Linked DNA regions of Homo sapiens: all the other regions are linked to region 5. Evidence: promoter capture Hi-C in 16 types of primary human blood cells and fetal thymus (Javierre and others, 2016). All regions are on one chromosome and are shown on one strand. Each heading gives the region's core, a stretch centred on a gene start or on the middle of the fragment in contact. The rest is flanking DNA. Distances are from core to core; before and after follow the strand shown.

Region 1 (2,700 bases), core at 193-2,692, 3.7 Mb after region 5:
TTGGTATTTGCCTTGCTCAGAAATCTCTTCCATAGATCTTCACAATGGCCGGCTTGTCTTAGGTCTTAGTTCAAATATCACCCGCTCAGAGAGACCTTGCCTGACTTCCACTATATACATGGAGGGTTTCCAGAACAAATGAAGGTATTGAACAAATGAGCTCCATAAAAATGGAAACAGGGTGCTCTGCTTGGTTTTTCAGAAAAATGGAAATAGCGGCCTCACACATAGAGTTGACATTCCTGAGATTATCCAGTAGATCTGGACTCTGGAGCTCTGAGTCTAAATGTACTGCTATCCAGACAGAGTCTGCAGAGGGACCTCTTGTCATTAACTACTGTGCACCTACAATTTGTTATCAATGAAATGTGTGTAGCTTTTATTTCATGGCCTTGGGAAGCATCCTTAAATCTTTTATCCTTTAGTTTCTTCATCTGAGGTTAACAATATATGTATTTTGAAAGGCTATAGAAACTGGGAAGAAACATTTGCAACTTATAGCACAAAGAGTTAATAACCATAATATGTAAAGAGCTTCAAAAAATATAGAAGAAAAAAGCCAACACATCTATGAAAAATGGGTTGGAAATATGAGCAGAGAGTTCACAGAAAAAGAAAGGAAAATGGATCCTGCATATATGAAAAGACTCTCAACCATACTTTCAGTGAATACACTTTCAAACTTCATTGAGATACAATATTCTCTCCTGTCAGGCTGACAAAAATCTAAAAGATTGACAGCATATTTTGTTGGTGAGGCTGTGGTGAAATAGATGCTTCCATACATTGCTAGTGGGAATGTAAAATGGCATAAGCCTCATGAATGGGAATTTGATATATCTAGTAAAATTACATATGCATTTTCCCTTTGATCCAGTAATCCAACTTCTAGGAATCTATCCAAAAATATGTTGTAAAACTACACAAATACTTTTATATGTGACTATACATTGCAGCATTGTTTATAATAGCAAAAGCTTGGAAATTGGTTGAATAAGGCAATGGAAGGTCCACTCAGTGGAATACTATGCAGCTATAAACAACAAGAAGACGACCTCTGTATTAGTCTGCTTTCATGCTGCTGATAAAGACAGATTTGAGACTGGGCAATTTATAAAAGAGGTATATAATGGACTTACAGTTCCACATGGCTGGGGAAGCCTCACAATCATGGTGGAAGGTGAAAGGCACATCTCACATGGCATCAGACAAGAGAAGAGAGCTTGTTCAGGGAAACTCCCCTTTTTAAAACCATCAGATCTTGTGAGACTCATTCGCTGTCACGAGAATAGCATGGGAAACACCCGTCCCCGTAATTCAATCACCTCCCACGACATGTGGAAATTATGGAAGTTTCAATTCCAGATGAGATTTGGGTGGGGACACAGCCAAACCATATCAACCTCTATACATTGCCATGAAGCGATGACCCCAATAACATGTTCAGTGAGGAGAATTCTTGGCCCTTGTGTATTTTTTTTTTCTTTAAGTAATCTGCATTGAACAAGTCTTAAATTTACAGTTAGAAAAATCAATAGTATATTTTGTTTTATTTTGAATTACCCAGAAGCTCATGAACTTTCTGACCAAAATCCTTTCCCAGAAAGTTTGTCAGTTGAGAACCTGTGAAGTCCAATTCATTTATATGTTAAGATTTGTGCTATGGGATGTTGACAGCCTGGTGAAATTGACCCAGCCTGGCATGATCCTGGAGTCTATTTGAAAGGTGCAGGTTCAGAAAGCAGAGTGCTTCACAGGCTGCCACATTCCTCTGAAGATAATCTGCAGGTTGTACCTGCTGCCACTAGGCTGTTAGGCTGCCTAGGGGATGGTTGCTGGCTGGATTAACCAGATTTGCCATTGGCAGGTGGGAGATTTGCACCCCCAGAATTAGGCTTGCTACTCCATTAAGCTTTTGACCACCTAATTTAAACCATATTATTATTTTCTAAATAGGCAACACATTTACATTTTAAAATGCAAAGAGTACAAAAAGATAGGCCATGAAATGTCTTTCTGACCTGGTTCCCCAGGCATGAAGTTTCCCTCCCAAAGGCAACTAATCTGATAGGAGAATGAGGAAAGGAAGAGGAAGAAAGTCAATAAGGCCAATATTGGGAAGGTTACACTTGAGGAGACCTGGGGCTCAAACCTTCTAGGGCACTGGGAGCCAGTGTAAAATTTATCCTGTCTTGTGGATTTTAGATAATCTGTGTGTATAGGGGAGATATTTTATACAGCAGCAGCAGGCTATCCACATTGTGCCATACCTCGCTTTTGTGTGACTTAATATCTCTTGGTAATTGTTCCATGTCAGTGCCCAAAAAGCTTCCTCATTCTTTTTTTTGCAACTGTTCAGTTATCTATTTATGGTTACATCATATTATATTTAACCCATTCTTTACTGGTGTCTGCTCCCATTTGTTGTTCCATTTTGAGCACCAGATTTTAAAACTCATTCCTATAGGACACACAAAGGATTTTATTTCCTAGGAAGAGCTCCATGGCTCCCTGACTTGCTCAACTGTTTTAAACCCCCACCCCACATGGAATAAGCACACTTCACCATTCTCTCACAACAACAATTAAGTCAACTTATCTTTGAATAAGTAGCTGGGGGTGGCGGGGACACACCCCTGAAGTGTGGGTTTAGGTTTGTTTGATTGGGGCGTGTGCTGGGGTGGGTGGAGCAGGATGAAG
Region 2 (2,700 bases), core at 118-2,617, 3.5 Mb after region 5:
AAAGCTCCTTACAATCACTTCTCACTATTTCCAGGCCCATGTGGTGAGGCCCTCCAGCTTTCACTCTGTCCGTCAGGTGATCCTAAAGGCACAGCATAGGAAAGACCCTTACTGGGATGACCACTGCTTGGAAGCAGGGAAGGCTAAGAGGCCTGCCCCTACCCAAGGCTGGTATAGATGTCCTCTGCTCTGCTTCTCAAAGACTGGGAACAGGTTCAGCAACTCAGTATCTGCCATGTCATCAAACCAGGACTGCACAGGCACTGCATTCTCTGGGTGGAAGATGTAAGAAGCAGACAAGTTGTCCAGGATGAGGGTTTTCCTCAGGTTCCTCCCCAGGCGGCTGAGGTTCCTGACTTAGCAGCCCTGGTGGAACCACAGGACTCATGGAATAGGTGAGCCCGGAACACCCCACACCGGCCAGCAGATCCGTCACAGGGTTGGCATACTTGGCCAGGTTGGCAGTGAAGGGAACACATTCAAAGAGTTCTCTCATTCGTCTCTTTCCACGTGAGCTCTTTTGAGGACAGAAACCTGCTTGAGTGGTCTCCTCAATCTCTGTAGGCACTGTGAAGCTAGCATTGTTGCTGGGCTTAAAGATGCACAAGGGCTTCATCCAGGTCAGTGACCACACAGATCCTCCTTTGATCTTCCTCTGTCACCTTGGGGCAGACACGTCCCTGGGATCCGATAAAACTGGTACTGGAGACACTGGAGCAGATCCGACTTAGCAGTGGTGTTGGCTTCCTCCTTATATGGATGAGCTCAGTGGAAGAGCTTGACTGGCCATGCTGGATGCGAAAATAGCAGACAAGGGCCTTGAAGATGTTATATCCACGAGGCTTCTTAAGGAGGGCTTGGAGACCAGGCCTTGCTTGGTGAGCACCAGGGCATCTTCCCCTGTGCCTGGGTGATGATGGAACTGTGCTCCATCTAATTCCACAGGTGCGGGCTGGTTGGGTGGAAGAACCAGTGAGCCCATGGTCTGGGCTGGGCTGGGGGGCCTGGGTTTGGGCTTGCTGCAACTCCTGAGACTCCCGACTCCCACAGCTGTTTACATACCCCCTCTCCTTTCCTCCCTGGGCTGCGAAGCGAGGTGGCCTGTACCAAGGGTGGGCGCCCGGAGATGGGCTCCCTTGGGTACCCTGGCTCCAGTCTCCTAGCAGCAGCTCTGGGCTTCTCAGTTTGGGTCCAAAATGGAGAATCCAGAGTGAAAACAAGAGAGGAATAATCTTTCTGAGAAGAAATGGACAGTATAGCAAAATATCCACTGTGTTGTAGATGAAAGATAGTGGACATTTTTAGGAAGCAGAGAGAGGTAGAGAGTTGGATGAGGGGCAAAGACAATAGGTTGGGTAAATGATGGGAAAAGAAAGGGTCTTCTGTTTTATCTCTTGGCTGATGAAAATAGAAAGTAAATTAGGCCCTGGTTGTATTGTTGAGGAGAGTTGCCAGCAGCCCTAATGGACTGAAGATTTGGATCACCCAGCTTGAAGTAGTGTCTGACCAGCAACTATGCTTCCAGGGTATGAGGCTTTGAGGGAGGGCCTAGGCCTAGGGGAGATGTTCCCAGTGTTTGGAATAACAGTAGCACTTTGATGAATAACTAAGAATATATAGAACAAACTAGGAGCATGGTTATTCTCTGTAAACGCAGAATGGCATTGGAAATCAAAGCCAGTATGAAATAAATGTGGTAAACACTAAACAGTTGCTAAATGTAGCATAAATAGACTCTTAAATGCCTGCTGTAATTTCTCATGTACTGCAAGAGGAGAAGGAGTGATGATAAATATTGAGAGTTTTTTTTTTTAAATGAAAGTAAAAAAATAAGTACTATGCTGCTTAAGAGAGGTCTGTGGACTAGCAGCGTCATCATCACCTGGGGAGTAGAAATGCAGAATCCCAGACATCATTCCAGCTCTACTGAATTAGAATCTTTATTTTAACAAGACCCTCAGGAGATTCATATGCACATAAAAGTTTAAGAAGTACTGTTCTAGCCAGAAAAGTGCTTTCATATTCTTATTCGGTTATCTAGCAGAATATACTTAGACACTTCTATTGCCTAAGACAATTAGATACATTTCTGGATGGTGACAGAACAATACAGGCTAAGAGTGTGGGGCTATGGAGGTAGGTTGTGTGGCTCAGTTCCGGGACAGTTGTTAGCTATGATTATGGCCATCCCGGATGAATTATTTACCTTTATCATCCTGAGCTTCCTCATCTGTAAAATGAAGCTAATAATAGTATCTACCTTATAGGGTATTGTGGCAACTAAATGAGACAATTTATATAAATTGTTTAGCACTGACCCAACATACAGTTAGCACTTTCTAAATGTTAGCCACTATTGCGATTTTGATTGTTACTAGATGGTCAGGTATGTTAAATGCATTTATTTGTTCCTCTTTTTATTTTTACTTCATCTGATGAGCTAAGGCATTAAAGATTGGATTTTTTTTTCCAAATTCAGAATTTTTTGTGATTTGATCAGTTCTTGTTGGTTTTTATTATTGACATTTCAGTTAAAAAAACTTACATCAATATGAATTAAATTTCTTCAAGAGTTTATGAGTATTGCTTTATTGCAGAAATGAAAGCAAATAAGAGGATATAAGATGTTTACTATGAAATCTCATTGAGAGGCATTGTAAGACATAGAGGAAGGCTGAGTCATAGAAGAACCAGCCTTGA
Region 3 (2,700 bases), core at 100-2,599, 3.6 Mb after region 5:
CAATTTTGAGGGTGCACTTTCTCAGTTAAATGAAGCTTAGTCCATCTCAGGTAGACACTGGTAGTTACTGACAAGGTAATGAGACTCTTAGGCACTGGGACAGAGAGGGTGGGGGGACCACAGACACAATAAATGTAGGGAGCTTTTCCTTTAGGGATTAAAGCAAGCCAAACAGTCAGGTGGACCCCAGCATCCATTCCCGAGAGCAAGTGCTCATCCTTGGCAATAAACGAAGACTGAGTCCAGGGCCAGAGGCGAGGGTCCTATGGCTCCCATCTGGGAAGCAGCCCCTCAGAAATGGCAGTAATTCACAGTCTGGACTGAACTCCCCAGGACTGGAGGTAAATGGTGAACCCACCAAGGTAGGTTTGGATGAAGTAAATATGGAATCCAATTGTGGTGCTCATGAACTGGGAAGGAGGAAGGGCAGAGAGTGTGAAAAATCCCCTATGCATTTGGCATTTAATAAGTGAATCCAAAATTAACCAGTGATTAATTGCTCATCAGATTTAAGGATGTTCCATAGTCTATAACTACATTCCAGCAAGATAGACTCATAGATGATTAACAGGGACATTTCTTGGCTTCCTGAATATTGTGGGTTCCCCCTTAAAATGAGGCTGTTCACAAGATTACAAAACCAAGTCCTATACCATGATTCAGATAGATCAGTGAAGAGGAGACAGACATAGCTCCATTTGCTCCTCCAACTAGAAATCCTCACTTTCTGGCAAAGATATACCTTTGATAAGTTCTTGGATGGCTTCATCCCAAACTGCCTTACTTTTCTGGTGACTGCATTCTTTGTTACAAAACCGGCAATCCCTGCTTCCCTCTTCCCCTCTGCTTCCCTCTTCCCCCTCTAGTCTCTACTCCCTTTGTCCATTTCAATGAATCACTGGTGTCCTTCTAAGTACATCTCCATCCTAGGAAGCATCTTCTGCTTGAAGGCTCTAGTGAGAACCTCAGCAATCTCTCCAGGGCCCTTGACTACTCTTTGGGGAAAAAAAAACAAGTAGTTAACATGGCTTCCTTCACACCACTGCCCACCATCTCTTCTGTGCTGCTGAAGAATCACAGATGTACCAAATCTTTGTGCTTCTGCTACGTATCTCACCCAGTTGCTAACTTAATATTCCCTTAGAAGGTTAATAGGCTGGGCACAGTGGCTCATGCCTGTAATCCCAGCACTTTGAGAGGACGAGGCAGGTGGATCTCTTGAGCTCAGGAGTTCAAGGCCAGCCTGGGCAACATGGTGAAACCCCATCTCTACTAAAAATAGAAAAATTAGCTGGCTCTGGTGGTGCACACCCAGCTACTCGGGTGGCTGAGGCACGAGAATCACTTGAACCCAGGAGGTGGAGGTTGCAGTGAGCCCAGATCATGCCACCATACTCCAGCCTGGGTGAGACTCTGTCGCCAAAAAAAAAAAAAAAAAGAAAAGAAAAGAAAAAAAAGTTAATACAGACAAAAGATCTTTTCTTGTTTCTGAAAGTAAAGTTTCTCTTCAGCAAACCCCATCTCACTTTCACTGTAATACAAAATAAAAAAAAGTTCACATCAAGAATTTTTAATGGAAGTTTTGTGTTTCCTTCATTTATTACAACTGTAATCAGCCATAGTTACTGCAATTAGCATGTAGCATTGAAAAGAACTGAGTACTCTTCTTTTCTTGTAATGTCTTTAATTCCTCATTACCATCATTTCAGTTGCCAAGCAACCTTCACTTTTATGTCCTATATTTGAAGGGACTAAGCAGAATTATTTTTAAAAAATCAATTTTAAAATAGAAGAGCAACCTTGTGTGCTAGCATACCTCTTTATAAATAATAATATTGATTTCAAGATCAAAATTGTTTAAGATATAAATTATGGGAAGCAAAAAGTTATAGTGAGTTTATCACCAAAAAGTTACTGTGATTATAATACATGTAAATATCCATAGAAGAGAATCAAGAAAGGCACACCCATGAAAGTTGATAGTGCTTATCTTGCTCTTGATGGTAAAATGAGTGACGGTAATTTTTTTCTTTTTGCCAGTCTGTATTTTCTACGTTCTCTATGGTGAACATGAATAATTTTAAAAGTTATTAACATTTATAAAGTAAGTATAAATGCTGAGGGACAGTTAGATCTTTGCAAATACAAGAACTTATAAAATAGTGGGAACTAAATGAGACTACATATGTAAAATATTAACATAAACACTGTGTTATTCATAGTAAATGCTCAAAAGTTAGCTATTACTAAAATAATATTTTAAAAGTCTATGCTAGTGGTTGATCTTATGTATATCTTACCACAAAGTCTATGTAAGAACAAGAAACAGTCTAAATTAATAATTTTTAAAGACTGAGTTAAAAATTTGTTGGGTTTCTAAGACTCCATCCTAAGAATATTGACTCTTCAAATATATCCAAAAGCACATTCTTAAAATATGCAAATTCCTGAAGGACTTTCTTCAAGTTTAATATCGTGATGGAGATACCCCATTACACCTTCTTCCAGACACTTTAAGTCTCAGAAATCATTTTAATGGTATCACAGCGAGAAACGGAGGCTCTGAGTTACAAAGCGACCAGTCCAAGCGCTGTGGTTTTAAGGAAATGACAATCTCAGAAACAAAACTGAAGGCTTCTTTTTTGCCAGCAATAACTTATTGACAAGCTTGTATTGATCATCCACGACAATGTATGATAT
Region 4 (2,700 bases), core at 35-2,534, 3.7 Mb after region 5:
AAATGTCAGCTCAGCTTAAAAGAAACTAGTGGTTAATTCAAATTCTGCTGATTTTTTATGGGACAAATGTTTGAACAATAGTGCAATCCTGCCAAGCCAAGCATAGTAAGACCCAAGTCTAATCAGAACTGGCACTTAGGGGTTGTATATGTGTGTGTTTTGACGGAGAATGTTCATGAGACCAAGAAAGTGGGCTCCCTTTGATCATCAATCACCCTCTCACATACATTTTTTTCTTTTCTTTTCCTTTTTTTTTTTTTTTTTTTTGAGACAGAGTCTCATTCTGCTGTCTAGATTGGAGTGCAGTGGTGTGATCTTGGCTCACTGCAACCTCTACCTCCTGGGCTCAAGCCATCCTCCCACCTCAGCCTCCTAAGTAGCTGGGACTACAGGTGTGCACCACACTGTCTAATTTTTGTATTTTTTTGTAGAGATGGGTTTCACCACATTGCCCAGGGTGGTCTTGACCTCCTGAGTTCAAGCGATATGCCTGTCTTGGCCTCCCAAAGCGCTGGGATTACAGGCATGAGCCACTGTGTTTGGCCTTTTAAAAACTTTGATAAGAACCTGAGATCTAATTGTGGTAGGGAAAAGCAGAAAGGAATGGGATAAAGCAGCATCATCTTTATAGACACTCGTGTGCAGTGTATATGCAGCTTATAACACGGCCACACATCCTTAAAACTGGGATTAACTGAGGCACTTGAAGGAGAGTGTGCTGGATAATGAAGTTTGTATTTAGACAAGCGTTCACAGAAAGCTTTTGCTTTCCTACTGCTATTGAAGCTTTTGAAAAAGAAGTTTCTATGTTTTCTTCCAGTTCCAGTTGTCTATTGTTATATAACAAACTACCACACAATTTAGTGGCTTAAAACAACCACCATTTTATTTGTGAGTCATAAATTTGGAGAGGGCTCTACTAGGCAGTCATTCAGTTCTATATTGCTTCTGCTGGTTTCACTTGGCTACATTTCAAAAGGTGTTACCACATCTGGTACCTCAGTGCTATTCCACCCTGACCCTCTTTCTGTCTCTCTTATTATGGCTAGTGTGGGCTCTTCACAGACTGGTGGCCACAGGGTAGGTAGATGTCTTGCATGGTGGCTGTGTTTCAAGAAAGTGTTGCAAGTCACATAGAAAAGCTGAAAAATCTCTTAAGGGTCAGCCTTGGAAATTACTAAGTGTCACTTCTACTGCATTCTATTGGTCAAAATAACTACAAGGCCAGCCCAGATTCAAGAGAAGGGGAAATTTATGTCAACTCTCAATGGCCTCCCAATGACAAAGAATGTGTGGCCATCTTTATGGCACCACACGGAACTCACCGCCTGCAAAATCTGCATTTTGTTTGTTGATTAAGGAGTGTGTGGTACCTCCAGACCATAATTTAAGATGTGAATGATGATTGCCTAGTTCTGCAGATGCAGGAAATGTGGTGAATCCCAGCATCAGTTAAAGATGCTTTCAGCTGTGAAAAACAGAAAACCTAATTCAAATCAGTTAACGTCATATGACATTTCTTTGCTTACAAGGCAGGAAGTCCAGAGGTGGGGGGTGTTCCTCAGGGTTGGTTGAGCCAATGTCTTAGTGATGTCATTAAGTGATGTCTCATTACTCTCATTCTCTTCTGTGACATTCCCAGGGTTGGCTGGTTGGCTTCATCCTAAGTCTGGCTCTTCTTACGGTGGGATGGCTATCAGTAGTCATTGTGGCTGCTTTCTTTCTTATTCACATTCAGTGAGAGAGAGACTACTATTTGTGGTTCTTTCTTAAAACTGAGAAAGAAGCTTCCAGAAGACATTATCAAATCTATTCTCTAGTCTTATTGACCAGAATTGGCTCACATGGCCATTTCTGAACCAATCACTGCCAAGAGGAAAGTGATATTCATATGCTAGTTTGTCCCATTCTGGATCTGAGGGTGGGATCAGCATCTTTGAGACATGGGCTGTAGGAAACAAAAATCAAAGTGGGGATTATATTGGTAAAAAAAAAAAGAAGGCAATCGATTTTGTATATGCAACCAAGAATGTCATTGTATTGCTTTAAAAATAATTTTGGGGCATCGATTCATTTTCCTAAGAGAAAAAATAAAAATTCCTTTTGAGAGTTCAGTTTAGGGAGAAATTAATTGTAGAACGAGCAACATTATGGAGACAGACCTGGTTAGAATTCTGTTTTCCTACTGAGAGAGTAATCTCCCTAAAGTCTCCATCTTCCCTCCGTTGAACCAGGATAACAGTACATGCTTCTTAGGGTCAGAATTAAAAAGTGATAATGTGTGCAGGATACCAAGACAAAGTAAATAGTCCTAATTTGAGAATACATGAGTACACAAATGGGAGGTTCCCCTGATCAGACAGTGGGGTATTTCCGAAGGTCTATGGGTGGAGGGGATGTGGAGCACAGTCGTATCTGAAAGCTCAGAATGCAAACTTTCGCAACTAGAACCATCTGGAGTGAGAGGGGTGGTGATACAGAGCTGGGACAGATTTCTCTGGGTGTTTCCTCCCCTACAGCATGTTTTTTAGAAGTGAAATCAGGTTACGAAGAGCACTAAGGCAGCTTTGAAGGGGAAGTCCTGAGAGAACAGGCTGCAGCTTCGGGGTGTGAGTATGTGTTGTATGCTTGTTGGGGACTGGGGGTGTGGAGAACAGCAGGCCCACTTACTTGGCCTTGCCTGATGGCAGATTAGGTCAA
Region 5 (2,700 bases), core at 83-2,582:
GCCCGGCTAATTTTTTTTCTTTTTATTTTTAGTAGAGACGGGGTTTCACCGTGTTAGCCAGGATGGTCTCGATCTCCTGACCTCGTGATCCGCCCGCCTCGGCCTCCCAAAGTGCTGGGATTACAGGCGTGAGCCCCTGCGCCCGGCCGGAAGGCAGAAATTTTAAGAAGGCAAGTGATATGATGAGATTTGCACTTGTATGAAATCACTCGGAAAGCAACATGAAGAATGGGCTAGAGCAGAGCAAGAGGAAGGACAATATAACAGATTACGATACCTTGGTCCAGGCAGAAAACAATGGCAACCAAGCTTAGGGTGACAGAGATGTAGAACACCAGATAGATTCAAAAGATATTTAGAATGTAGAAATGTAGGGACTAAGGGAAAGGGAGGATTCAAAATCACTCCCTAGGCTTCTGCCCTGGCAAATCTGTTGAGACAAGGAATAAAGAATAAAGAAGCAGGTGGGCATGATAACTTCTACATTGAACTACTTACACTCTTATGCAATTCACAAATAAATAATAAGAATGAGGAATGATGCTGACAACCACAGGACTGTGGTTCCCTATCCAAAGCCAACTGTGGCTCACAATGCAAGATAGTAAACAGATTCTAAATGAACGCTCTCAAACTACAGAATTACTCTGTTTTTAGATAGGTCTATTTGGAGGTGTCTTGTCAGTTTCTCATCGCTGCTCAAAAACTCAGGACACTCTAAGGACCAGGAAAAAGCCTACTCCTACTTGAAGAGGCAGTCCAGCATCACTCTGCTGCGAAGCCTACTTGCCAGTCTCAGATAGACTGGGGTGTTCCCTCCTCTCTGAATCCATTGCTCCTGAGACAAACTCCAACACAGCAAAACTCATACAGTAGTTTTATTTTCATGCGTCTGTCTTCCTTGGGCCATGAACTCCCCAGGGCAGGGCAGCTTCTTTCACCACGGTATGCCCAGCACCTAGCATAGTGGCCGGCACGGAGCTGATACTCAGTAAAAAGACGTGTGTGAATCAATTAACAAACGAATGCCTCCTCCGGACTCCTAAATCCTGAAAAAAAACCCCACCACCAGGCCTCGGGGCCACGACGTCCATACCCACTCACACACACCAGACTCGCCCGAGCTCACCTGGGTCACGAACTCCGCATTGATTTGGGACACCGTAGGGGCCACGATCTTCTTGGGCTGCGCAGGGGCTGCCATGGCAGCACTCTTCCCTCCACTCCAGTGGAAACTAAAGGACCGCTCTGGGCAGCGGCAACCCTGGTCCACTTCCCTTAAGTTACTGCCGGGGCGCTTAACTCCGCGCCGCACAAACGCTCCGGGCCGGATATCCTCAGCCTTCAGAGTCCCGTAGGGAACCCGTACAACAGCCCAAGCGTTCCTCGGGAAGCGGAATGGCGTGTAGCCGGAAGTTCATGCAGGCGTTGGGGCTGAGCTAGCGAGCCAAGAGCTTTGACCTCCTCTGTACACGCCCTCTAGCGGGCGGCAGAGAGAAGACACCTCGCTGGCGGGATTAGGAGGGCAAGGGAGGGACCCGGTGGATGGTGTTGGGTGGGGTTTCTCGTGGTTAGTGAAGAGTGCCGTGTGCGGTGAATGGGGATTTAGTTTTTTTTCAACCCTAAAGAAAAAACAAAACAAAACAAAAAAAACAGCCTGGGAATATGGGCTGGGTTTTAACTGCCCTTAACAGTGTTTTAGTTTAGTTTTGTTTTTTTTGAGACGGAGTTTCGCTCTTGTTGCCCAGGCTGCAATGCAATGGTGCAATCTCGGCTCACAGCAACCTCTGCCTCCCGGGTTCAAGCGATTCTCCTGCCTCAGCCTCCCGTGTTGTTGGGATTACAGGCATGCGCCACCATGCACAGCTAATTTTTGTATTTTTAGTAGACACAGGGTTTCTCCGTATTGGTCAGGCTGGTCTCGAACTCACCAACTTTAGGTAATCCGCCTGCCTCAGGGTCCCAAAGTGCAGGGATTACAGGCCTTAACAGTTTTATGGAGGTAAAAATTGACATACAATAACCCAGCCAGGCGCGGTAGTCACGCCTGTAATCCCAGCGTTTTGGGAGGCTGAAGCTGGCCGATTGCCTGAGGTCAGGAGTTTGAGACCAGCCTGGCTAACATGGTGAAAACCCATCTCTACTAAAAAACAAAATTTAGCCGGGCGTGGTGGCGCGCGCCTGTAGTTCCAGCTACTCGGATTCAGGAGAATAATCACTTGAAGCTGGGAGGCGGAGGTTGCAGTGAGCCGAGATTGCGCCATTGCACTCCAGCTTGGTGACAGAGCGAGACTAGCCTCAAAAAATAAAAATAAAATAATAATAAAAATAATTCACATACAATAACCCACACATATTTAGGTTGTAAAATTTGATGCGTTTTGACATGAACATACATTTGTGAAACTATTGCCAAAATCATAATGAGCATATCAAAGCCTCTAAAAGTTTCCTCGTGAACTTTTGCTATCTGTGCCTTTCACTGTTCCCACCCACTTTTCAGGCAACCACTGATCTGCTTTCTGTCACTATAGTTTGCTTTTCATGGAATTTTATATAAATGAAATAATACAGTGCATGCCTTCTTTCACTCAACGAAATGATTTTGAGATGGATTCATGTTGTTGCATGTATCAGTAGTTCATTCCTTTTTTATTGCTTAACATTCGTTCCATTTTACTGATATACCACAGTTTGATA
Region 6 (2,700 bases), core at 38-2,537, 3.5 Mb after region 5:
ATTCTCCATTCTCTTCTCCAGTCAGAAACATTGAATTGCCAAATATATTTTCCTGAAAATCTCTCTCTCTCGTCTCTCTCTCTCTTCATCTCTTTTGAGACTGGCTCTAGCTATATAACCCAGGCTGGTCACAAACTTCTGGCCTCAAGCAATCCTCCCACCTCAGCCTCCTGAGTACCTGAGTAGCTGGAATTACAACCACAAGCCACCATGCCTGACTAAAAACCTCTTTTTGTCTTGATATTCCTCTAATCAGAAATCTGCATTGGCACTTTAGTTCCTACCAGATAAAATAGAAATCTGGAGGTCTGGTGTTTCAAGACTGGTCTCAATCTACATTTCCAAACTTATATTCCATTCCTCTCCCTTTTGGAGGTCTTCTCCTGGCCCGAGCTGTCCTGGTTACTCTTTCCATAATTGTTTTCAACTTCCTTACCTTAACCCCTTTCTGGAATGTCTTCTTTCTCACCCAGGTTGAAATTTTACTCTTCAGTCAAAGCCCCACTCCCTTCCTGTGCCTTGGTGGAAGAGTTTTCTCCACTGCTGCTGGTCTGTAATGGCCTCTCCTGCCTCTGAGGTGCTATTAAGACTGACTGCCTATGTTACTTTTGGCCTTGACTATAACTAGTAACTATAGCTTTGAAAACAGGATGATATTGGATTATTATTTATTTTCCCCTCAGGGTATATAGTTCAGCACCTTGTACAAAATATGCATTCAACAAACAGAAGTCAATTTATTGAATATTAGATGTTATTTATTAGTTACTTAGAAATATAACCTCATATAAATGTCAAGAGTATGGGGGTTTGAATGGTAATTCTTCTACATCAAAGCATGGCATAGTAGGTACTGTGAAATGCACCCTGCTCTCCCCCATTGAATATGTATGCACACACACACACACACACACATACAAACACACACACACACACACACACACACACACAAGCTTATCTTTGGAGTTCAGGTGAGAGCATCTTAACCTCAGAAAACGTTATCAGGCTTGTATTAGTCAAGAGTAACTCCTAAAAGTAGCTTGAACAAAGTAGCTTTAAAAAACAGGAGCGTATTAGCCTCTGTGATGGGCAATTCAAGAGATGGATTTTTTAGGCAGAGCTAGATTGAGGGGTTCCAGTGTGCCCCAGCTCTGCTTTAATCCATGTTGATTTAATTCTCAGGCAAATTCTTTCCACGCGATGATGGAATAACTCCAAGTTCAAGTCCTTACAATGGGAGATCCCAGAGAACAGAGAGCATCTCTTTCCAATACCATAGAGACCTGCTCTATGAGTGACCACTGCTTTCTTATTGATGATGTCCCTGGAACTATTCTGCTACATCCATGTATTACAGGGGACACCCCGTGGCAATCCTAATCCCTAGTTAATCCCCACTTTCCTAATCCTACTTCAGAAGCAGCCTCCAATCCAGAACCGATGTTCAGTTCCTGGATCCTGCTCAAAATCCTTCAGTGAAACACACACTGTACAGAAGACGTTTCCTGCTCCTTCTTGTTGAGTGGTCTGCCACAGTGCTTCTGCCATGTGCTCCCTCACTGAAAATCAATACATCTGATTTTGTCAGATTATACATTGTGCCCAGTGGTCTTTGGCTAATTAAGCTTTAACAGGGAAAGAGGAGAAATGAGCTGCTATATATTGCTTTTACCCTAAATTAGTCCCTAGAGGATGTTTTCTGATCATATTTTTTTCCTGTGTCCTTGACTTCCTTAAGCAGCGCCTGTTCATTTTCACTGGAAATGTTCCAAATGGATCAGAATAATTTTGACATTGTGTCACCAGGGACATCCTCCTTTTAATATCTAGCATCACACAAAAACAAACATTGCATTAGTCCTGAAAGAGTTCTGACTCTACATAATTAATTTTCAACACAAAACTAATATAAATAGGAATGTGGAAAAAATAGGTATTAAAGGTAAAATGGAGGCTGGGCACAGTGGATCATGTCTGTAATCCCAACACTTTGGGAGGCTGAGGCAGGAAGATCACTCGGGCCCATGAGTTCAAGACCAGCCTGAGCAACATGGTGAGACCTCATTTCTACAAAAACATACAAAAATTAGCCAGATGTGGTGTGTGTGCCTGTACTCCCAACTAATCAGGAGGCTGAGGTGGGAGGATCACATGAGCCTGGGACGTTGAGGCTGCAGTGAGCCATGATGTGGGTTTGAATGGTAATTCTTCTACATTAAAGCATGGCATGGTAGGTACTGTGAAATGCACCCTGCTCTCCGCCATTGAATATGTATGCACACACACACAGCCTGGGTGGTAGAGCAAGACCTTATCTCAAAAAAAAAATTTAAAGATAAGATGGAAATGGAAATATGACAGATCAAGATAGTGACTGCTTGTAGCCCAATGTAAACTTATCTGTTTGAATTTCTTCTCTTTAGAAGCTTATTTCTATACCATTAAGTTCATGTTATCTGTGCTGCTTAACAAACCTATTTGCCAACTTCAAATAACTATTTCACCAACCTCGTGGATTCTTTGGGTCAAGAATTCAGAAAGGATACAGTGGGGATGGCTTATCTCCTTTTGGTATATCTGGGACCTCAGCTGACAATGACACAAACACTGGGAGTGATGATGGCTGGGAGCAAATGTCAGCTGGAGGTTTTGTCTTTCACATGTCTGGCAGTCGATGCTTGCTGTGTGCTGGGACATCAG

What was found. The method cuts DNA at HindIII sites, captures the fragments that hold promoters and counts their contacts. A CHiCAGO score of 5 or more calls a contact.
Region 1: a contact is called between a fragment that was not itself captured here and the fragment with the promoter of AQR in region 5, in 1 of 17 cell types (total B cells). The highest score is 5.9, in total B cells.
Region 2: a fragment that was not itself captured here is called in contact with the fragment with the promoter of AQR in region 5 in 5 of 17 cell types (non-activated CD4 T cells, total CD4 T cells, activated CD4 T cells and 2 more); the score reaches 8.7 in non-activated CD4 T cells.
Region 3: a contact is called between a fragment that was not itself captured here and the fragment with the promoter of AQR in region 5, in 1 of 17 cell types (non-activated CD4 T cells). The highest score is 5.3, in non-activated CD4 T cells.
Region 4: a fragment that was not itself captured here is called in contact with the fragment with the promoter of AQR in region 5 in 2 of 17 cell types (naive B cells and total B cells); the score reaches 7.2 in naive B cells.
Region 6: a fragment that was not itself captured here is called in contact with the fragment with the promoter of AQR in region 5 in 1 of 17 cell types (total B cells); the score reaches 6.0 in total B cells.

The regions. Positions count from the first base shown.
Region 1 is chr15:38,648,761-38,651,460 of GRCh38, forward strand. No RefSeq gene overlaps it. Among named protein-coding and RNA genes, the nearest start is that of LINC02694, 46 kb to the right of the region's middle. The HindIII fragment of the contact is 935 bases long and covers 976-1,910 here.
Region 2 is chr15:38,458,608-38,461,307 of GRCh38, forward strand. All of the region lies in intron 1 of FAM98B (family with sequence similarity 98 member B), which reads left to right. It also overlaps the pseudogene LOC100422645. Among named protein-coding and RNA genes, the nearest start is that of FAM98B, 5.8 kb to the left of the region's middle. The HindIII fragment of the contact is 9,186 bases long and covers 1-2,700 here.
Region 3 is chr15:38,548,822-38,551,521 of GRCh38, forward strand. The region is part of intron 2 of RASGRP1 (RAS guanyl releasing protein 1); the gene reads right to left. Among named protein-coding and RNA genes, the nearest start is that of RASGRP1, 15 kb to the right of the region's middle. The HindIII fragment of the contact is 2,632 bases long and covers 34-2,665 here.
Region 4 is chr15:38,669,332-38,672,031 of GRCh38, forward strand. It overlaps LOC105370775 (a long non-coding RNA gene), which reads left to right and starts at 2,564. Exons shown (of 2, transcript XR_007064584.1): 1 at 2,564-2,609. RefSeq lists enhancers at 1,086-1,155, 2,289-2,408. The HindIII fragment of the contact is 1,001 bases long and covers 785-1,785 here.
Region 5 is chr15:34,968,410-34,971,109 of GRCh38, forward strand. It overlaps AQR (aquarius intron-binding spliceosomal factor), which reads right to left and starts at 1,333. Exons shown (of 35, transcript NM_014691.3): 1 at 1,130-1,333. The coding sequence starts at 1,204. RefSeq lists enhancers at 1,127-1,276, 1,327-1,436. The HindIII fragment of the contact is 5,969 bases long and covers 308-2,700 here.
Region 6 is chr15:38,427,682-38,430,381 of GRCh38, forward strand. No RefSeq gene overlaps it. Among named protein-coding and RNA genes, the nearest start is that of FAM98B, 25 kb to the right of the region's middle. The HindIII fragment of the contact is 672 bases long and covers 952-1,623 here.